2 separate regions of the Homo sapiens genome follow, and region 2 is linked to region 1. Evidence: promoter capture Hi-C in 16 types of primary human blood cells and fetal thymus (Javierre and others, 2016). All regions are on one chromosome and are shown on one strand. Each heading gives the region's core, a stretch centred on a gene start or on the middle of the fragment in contact. The rest is flanking DNA. Distances are from core to core; before and after follow the strand shown. Region 1 holds the start of ANKRD33 (ankyrin repeat domain 33). Region 2 overlaps SLC4A8 (solute carrier family 4 member 8).

What was found. Contacts are between HindIII fragments. The CHiCAGO score rates a contact against its expected background, and 5 or more counts as called.
Region 2: a contact is called between a fragment that was not itself captured here and the fragment with the promoter of ANKRD33 in region 1, in 1 of 17 cell types (M0 macrophages). The highest score is 5.9, in M0 macrophages.

Annotation. Positions count from the first base shown.
Region 1 is chr12:51,886,698-51,889,692 of GRCh38, forward strand. ANKRD33 (ankyrin repeat domain 33) reads left to right here and starts at 1,406. Exons shown (of 5, transcript NM_182608.4): 1 at 1,406-1,634; 2 at 1,871-2,121; 3 at 2,370-2,499; 4 at 2,675-2,785. The coding sequence starts at 1,490. The HindIII fragment of the contact is 2,326 bases long and covers 326-2,651 here.
Region 2 is chr12:51,448,092-51,451,086 of GRCh38, forward strand. SLC4A8 (solute carrier family 4 member 8) reads left to right here. Exons shown (of 25, transcript NM_001039960.3): 3 at 2,785-2,931. Among named protein-coding and RNA genes, the nearest start is that of SLC4A8-AS1, 24 kb to the left of the region's middle. The HindIII fragment of the contact is 1,429 bases long and covers 827-2,255 here.

The sequences.
Region 1 (2,995 bases), core at 156-2,655:
GCTGCAGTAAGCTATGATCATGCCACTCCACTCCAGCCCAGGTGACAGAGTAAGACCCTGTTTCTAAAAAGAAAAAAATAAAATAAAAACACACAAATCAGTACTATCTTTTTCAATGAAATGTACATTTTCAAGGATATACAAGTGCCAGTTGGTAAAGGGTGGAGGAGAATGGGATGTGGGGATTAAGGGTGAAAGAGAGAAACTAAAGAAAGTAAAACAAAACAAGAGAGAGGTCTTGTACAGTCTGATGATGGGAGTGATACCAATGGGGGAATATCATTGGCTCCATTTTCTACATCTGTGGACCAAGACCAATCCATCAAGCTTAATATGTAATATAAATATTAAAGAATATTTTGATAACAATTTATCATTATATTAACAGATCATTTAATTTAAATATTTCATATTTAATTTATCACACTGAAACTAATCTATTAAATTTCATACATCATAATTTCTGGCCAATCCCTCCCTCACTACTGCCTGCCGCACTTTGTGCCCCGACTGCCCACCTGCACTAGACACATAATGTCGGTACTCACAATTTCGTTTGTTTGTTTGTTTTGTTTTTTGAGAAGGAGTTTCGCTCTTGTTGCCTAGGCTGGAGAGCAATGGTGCGATCCCGGCTTACTGCAACCTCTGCCTCCCGGGTTCAAGTGATTCTCCTGCCTCAGCCTCCTGAGTAGCTGGGATTACAGGCGCCCACCACCAAGCCCAGCTAATTTTTGTATTTTTAGTAGAGACAGGGTTTTGCCATGTTAGCCAGGCTGTTCTTGAACTCCTGACCTCAGATAATCCACCCGTCTTGGAATCTCAAAGTGCTGGGATTACAGGCGTGAGCCACCCCGCCTGGCCACAATTTTTTTTTAAAAGGAGGTCTCCCTCTGTTGCCCAGGCTAGAGTTCAGTGGCGCGACATCGGTTCATTGCAGCCTCGACCTCCCGGGCTCAAGCGATCCTCCCACCTCAGCCTCCTGAGTCGCTGGGATAACAGACGTGAGCCACCGGGCCCAGCTCTATACTCATAATTTGACAATTATGTTTTTATTTCCCCAGAACCTCAAAAAATAAGTTCAGGTGACCCCCCTGGAGACCCCACCCCAGGGTCATTCTGAGAGTACCAACCCTATTTAATGAGATACCTGCATTCACTCACCCCCTCTCCCGCAACCACCCCTTCAGCAAGTCGCGCTCCACCCAATTAGGAGGGGCTTTAGGCTGGGCCTAAAAAGTTGGGCCAAGACCCCACGAGGCAGCATCTCCGCCGGCGTCCCCAAGGCTGAGAGTGGGCGCGTCCGTCAGGAGGAGTCGTCTTTGTGAGCCCGCCCCGGCGGGGAGGAGCTGCCCGGCTCAGGCCCCGCCCACCCGGAGGATCTTGGGGCTGGTCTGAGTCCGCTCCTGAGACGTGACCACCCGCCCCGCATGGGGCCCCAGTCCCAGCTGCTTGATCCGGCTCAGCCCCGAGGTGTTTGCAGCAGCTCTTTATGAAAGTCCAGCCATCTGTTACCTGCGTTGCTTCCTGGGGAGGGATAGTCCACCTGGAGGCATTCGGAGACCCAGTGATTGTGCTCCGCGGAGCCTGGGCTGTGCCCCGCGTTGACTGCCTCATAGATACCCTACGAACCCCAAGTAAGAAAAAACGACGACCCTCTCTCCGTGAGTCTCACTGGGGTGCTGACCTAGAGTGAACCCTGCTTGCTTAGGGCTCCTGACCCAGCGCTTGTCCTTTCTCAGGGTGGATGGGGCGAGACCCCTGCTGGGATAAATGTTTTCCCTGGGGCAAGGGCTGTGCACTTCGCAGCTGCTGGGTCCCCTCCCTAGGATCCAGGGAGACACTCACTACTCCTCTCCATTCTGTGTTTTAGATGCCAGCTGCATGAGAAAAGGGACTCACCTTCTGGTTCCCTGCCTGGAAGAGGAAGAGCTGGCATTGCACAGGAGACGGCTGGACATGTCTGAGGCACTGCCCTGCCCGGGCAAGGAGACCCCCACCCCAGGCTGCAGGCTGGGGGCCCTGTATTGGGCCTGTGTCCACAATGATCCCACCCAGCTCCAAGCCATACTGGATGGTGGGGTCTCCCCAGAGGAGGCCACCCAGGTGGACAGCAATGGGAGGGTGAGATGTCCTGGCTTCCCAGAACAGCTGGGGGCATCTTTGCATCCCCACCACACCGTCCTGGCCTGGCTCCCTGAGAGGGGTTCAGGGGCAATACCTCCTGCAGTCCTAAGGAGGAAGGGAATGGTTAAGGGCGGGTCTTCACGGGGTTTGGGGCAGGCTCTGGGACAGATATGGGTTTAGAGGGTGCAAGGGGCCCTGGAGTGGCCCAGGGGGAAAGCAGGGGATCTGAGCTGCCCCTCCCTCAGACAGGCCTCATGGTCGCATGCTACCACGGCTTCCAGAGTGTTGTGGCCCTGCTCAGCCACTGTCCTTTCCTTGATGTGAACCAGCAGGACAAAGGAGGGGACACGGCCCTCATGTTGGCTGCCCAAGCAGGTGTGAGGCTGCTGCACCCCACTTCCGACAGCCCCCTTTTGATGCAGACAGGGCCTCAGCCCCACCCTTGTTGCACGGTGTTCTACACCAGACTCTGTCATGCTGGGTGGAGGGCGGTTTGGGAGCTTCATCACCCCCTTTCCTGGGGACCAAGCTTACCCTTGCTGCCCTGCAGGCCACGTGCCTCTAGTGAGTCTCCTGCTCAACTACTATGTGGGCCTGGACCTGGAACGCCGGGACCAGCGGGGGCTCACGGCGTTAATGAAGGCTGCCATGCGGAACCGCTGTGAGTGCGTGGCCACCCTCCTCATGGCAGGTGTGCGGGGCCTGGACCGGGGTGTGTGGCCTCCAGTCCCTCCTCCAAGCCTTCCCACCAGACACTAAGTCAGCTGTGATTATTTGCAGAAAGGAGAGAGGTGGAGATGGGGGATCAATCTAGTTCACCTTCCTGGAGGGGGGGGCACATGATTTGGGCTTCGTACAATCAACCAAGTCC
Region 2 (2,995 bases), core at 291-2,790, 440 kb before region 1:
GAATGTATAATTGGTATTAAAAGAAGAAAAGATTAAAAAGGAGATTGAGTACTGAGCATGAAGGTCCTGAATTCATATGGGTGAGCCATGATCAGAGATGTAACTAGGAGGATTTGTTTGCAGGGTTAATTTAATGTGAGAGGCAGGAAGGGGCCCCTGCTTTGTTAAAGTGGGAGTTTTGATGGCCCTAATCTATAGAAAGTACGGTGAGGGAGAAAGGGAATGGAGTTGAAAATCTAAGGTAACGCTCGGTTTCAAGCCTAGGAAATTGAGAGAATGACAAGGCCATGAACAGAAACATGGAATGAGTATAAGACCGATTTGAGATGGAGGATGGTGAGTTTGCTTTGTGACATGTTCAATCATTGTAGATAGAGATTTGAAGGTCATTTGTAGAAGTGAATTTTGAAAACAGAAGAGTGTTTAGCACTAAAAAGGAAGAAAAGGGCCAAGGACAGAAACTTGAGGAGCTTTCCTTTGGTGGCTTGTTGGGGGATGGAGCAGCACAGTCAGAGTAGTGCAAGTGAACCAGGGGAGGGCAGTGGCACCGGAGCTCAGGGAGCCCAGAGCACCCAAGTGGTTTGGATACTGCCTGCAACGTGGTGGGCTCTCAAGAAAGTCTTTTGAACTAAGCTGAGAGAGATGTAAGATGATAGAGATTTGGTGAATGAGTGGTGTGGTGTCCCTAATGAGGGAAGCTTCAGCAGAGACTGGGGTCAGAAGCCATATGCAGAGGCTGTGGAACAAGGAAGTGGTGAGGAAAGGGAGTTAGGTTGTGACTGTTTTTGGAAGTGGTTTGATAAAGAAGGAAAGAGGAAACAGCAGAAGCTTGGGTGGGTAGCACTGCTTGGGAAGGTTTCTTTTTAAGAAGTCAGGAGAAACCTATGGCAGGGATGGATGGAAAGGAGAGACTGAGGATAACAGAAGCAACAGGATACCAGAGGGGTGGGAGACAATGGGATAGAGTCATACTCATTAACATACCCAGCTTGGCAGAGGAGAGCAAGCCAGACTGAGGAAGAGAAGAACTTCTTCCATCTCTTCTCAGGAAAAACTGAAGTGAGGGCTGGGTGCAGTGATTCACACCTGTAATCCCAGTACTTTGGGAGGCCAAGGCAGGAGAATCGCTTGAGCTCAGGAGTTTGAAACAAGCCTGGGCAACATGGCAGGACTTGTCTCTACTAAAAATCAAAAAAATTAGCTGGGCGTGGTGGTACACGCCTGTGGTCCCAGCTACATGGGAGGATCACTTGAACTTGGGAATTCAAGGCTACCATGAGTGGTGATCATAACACCACACTCCAGCCTGGGCAACAGAGTGAGACCCTATCTAAAAAAGAAAGGAAAAAAAAAAAAACTGATGCAAAGTCACCTGCTCTCAGCAGGAAGGAATGTGGATAAGGTTGTGGATTTGAAGACAGTGGCTAAGGATTAGAACAGCTCCTTTGGTGGAAGATGTGGGGAATGGGTCTGAGATCTAGAGTGCTGAGCAGCAGTAACCAGGCAGAAATGGGAGAAGACCAAGGCATGGTGCATTGGGCATGGGAGCATCAGCAGCCCCAAATTCTGGGCTCCAGGTTTGGCAGGAAGGCAAGGGAAAGCCAGGTAGAGGTGACAGAGATCTGGAAATCTGGATCAAAACAAAAGCAGGCTTATAGAAGGAATGAGGCCAGATGTGGTGACTCATGCCTGTAAACCCAGTGCTTTCGAGGTGGAGACAGTAGGATTGCTTGGGGCAATCAGCTTGGGCAACGTGGCGAGACCCCATCTCTACAAAAAATTGAAAAATTAGCTGGGTGTGGTGGTGCACACATGTATTCCTAGCTACTTGGGAGACTGAGGTGGGAGGATTGCTTGAGCCCAGGAGTTCAAGGCTACAGTAAGATATGACCAGGCTACTGCCCTCTAGCCTGGGTGACAGAGTGAGATACTGTCTCAAGAAGAAAAAGAAGAAATAGGAGCAGAGGAACTAGGGAGGGAACACTATTGGGTCACTTATTTTCTCATGTTCCCCTCTCTTTGTACAGTATTTAATGTCTTTTTTTAACCTTAGCCTCACCCTCCTCATGACTTACAACTAGTCTCTTTTAGTACTGTTCTAGATTGTGTATGCTACAATGTAGAAAATAAAATAATGGAAGCTGATCCTAGGATGAATACATCCTAGGCTGCTACAATTTATTCCAGGCATGTGTTAAGCATTTTGCATGCATAACCTTATTTACTGCTTATGAAAACTCTGAGTTTAAATACTAAGCTTTTAATATTTCTTCTTAAAGATGAGTCACAGAGAGATTAGATAAATTGTTCAAGGTCACATGGCAAGTGAATGATGGAATTGAGTTTTGGACCCAGGTGGGCTGATTTGAGCCTTACCTGTGCTCTTAACGACTTTTCTAAACTGCCTCCCTGCCAAGACCTGCCACACTTGTCATAGAGCAACTGTATTGCCTTTTAAAAAAATCACTCAGTCAAATTGTCATTGTCATTGTCATAACAATAACATCTGAATCAGCCTTTACAGTTTGGAAATCACATTATTTCTTTCAGTCTTCACAAGATCCCTGTGAAGTTTGCAGGCATGTGCAGGACAAAGGAAGAGACCTTCAACTCCAAAATCTCTATATCTTTACTCCTGGAAGTCTTTGAAGTTTTGTTGTTCCAGAGCTGTGACCAGACCAAAGAACTGTGATATTTTTTTCTCTTAACTATGCTAGGCTTTTTGTTGTTGTTGTTTTTTAAAACTAAAGGAGTTCTCTCCACAGACCTTCTGCTTCTTTCCAGGTCACAGAACTCTGTATGTGGGAGTTCGGATGCCGCTTGGCCGGCAGAGCCATCGGCATCACCGCACTCATGGCCAGAAGCACCGGAGACGAGGGCGGGGCAAAGGAGCCAGCCAGGGGGAGGAAGGCCTGGAAGCCCTGGCCCACGGTAAGGGCCTTGGGAGACAGGGCGGGTGTCCATGGCCCAGGGGAATGGGGAGGCTGAGGGGACA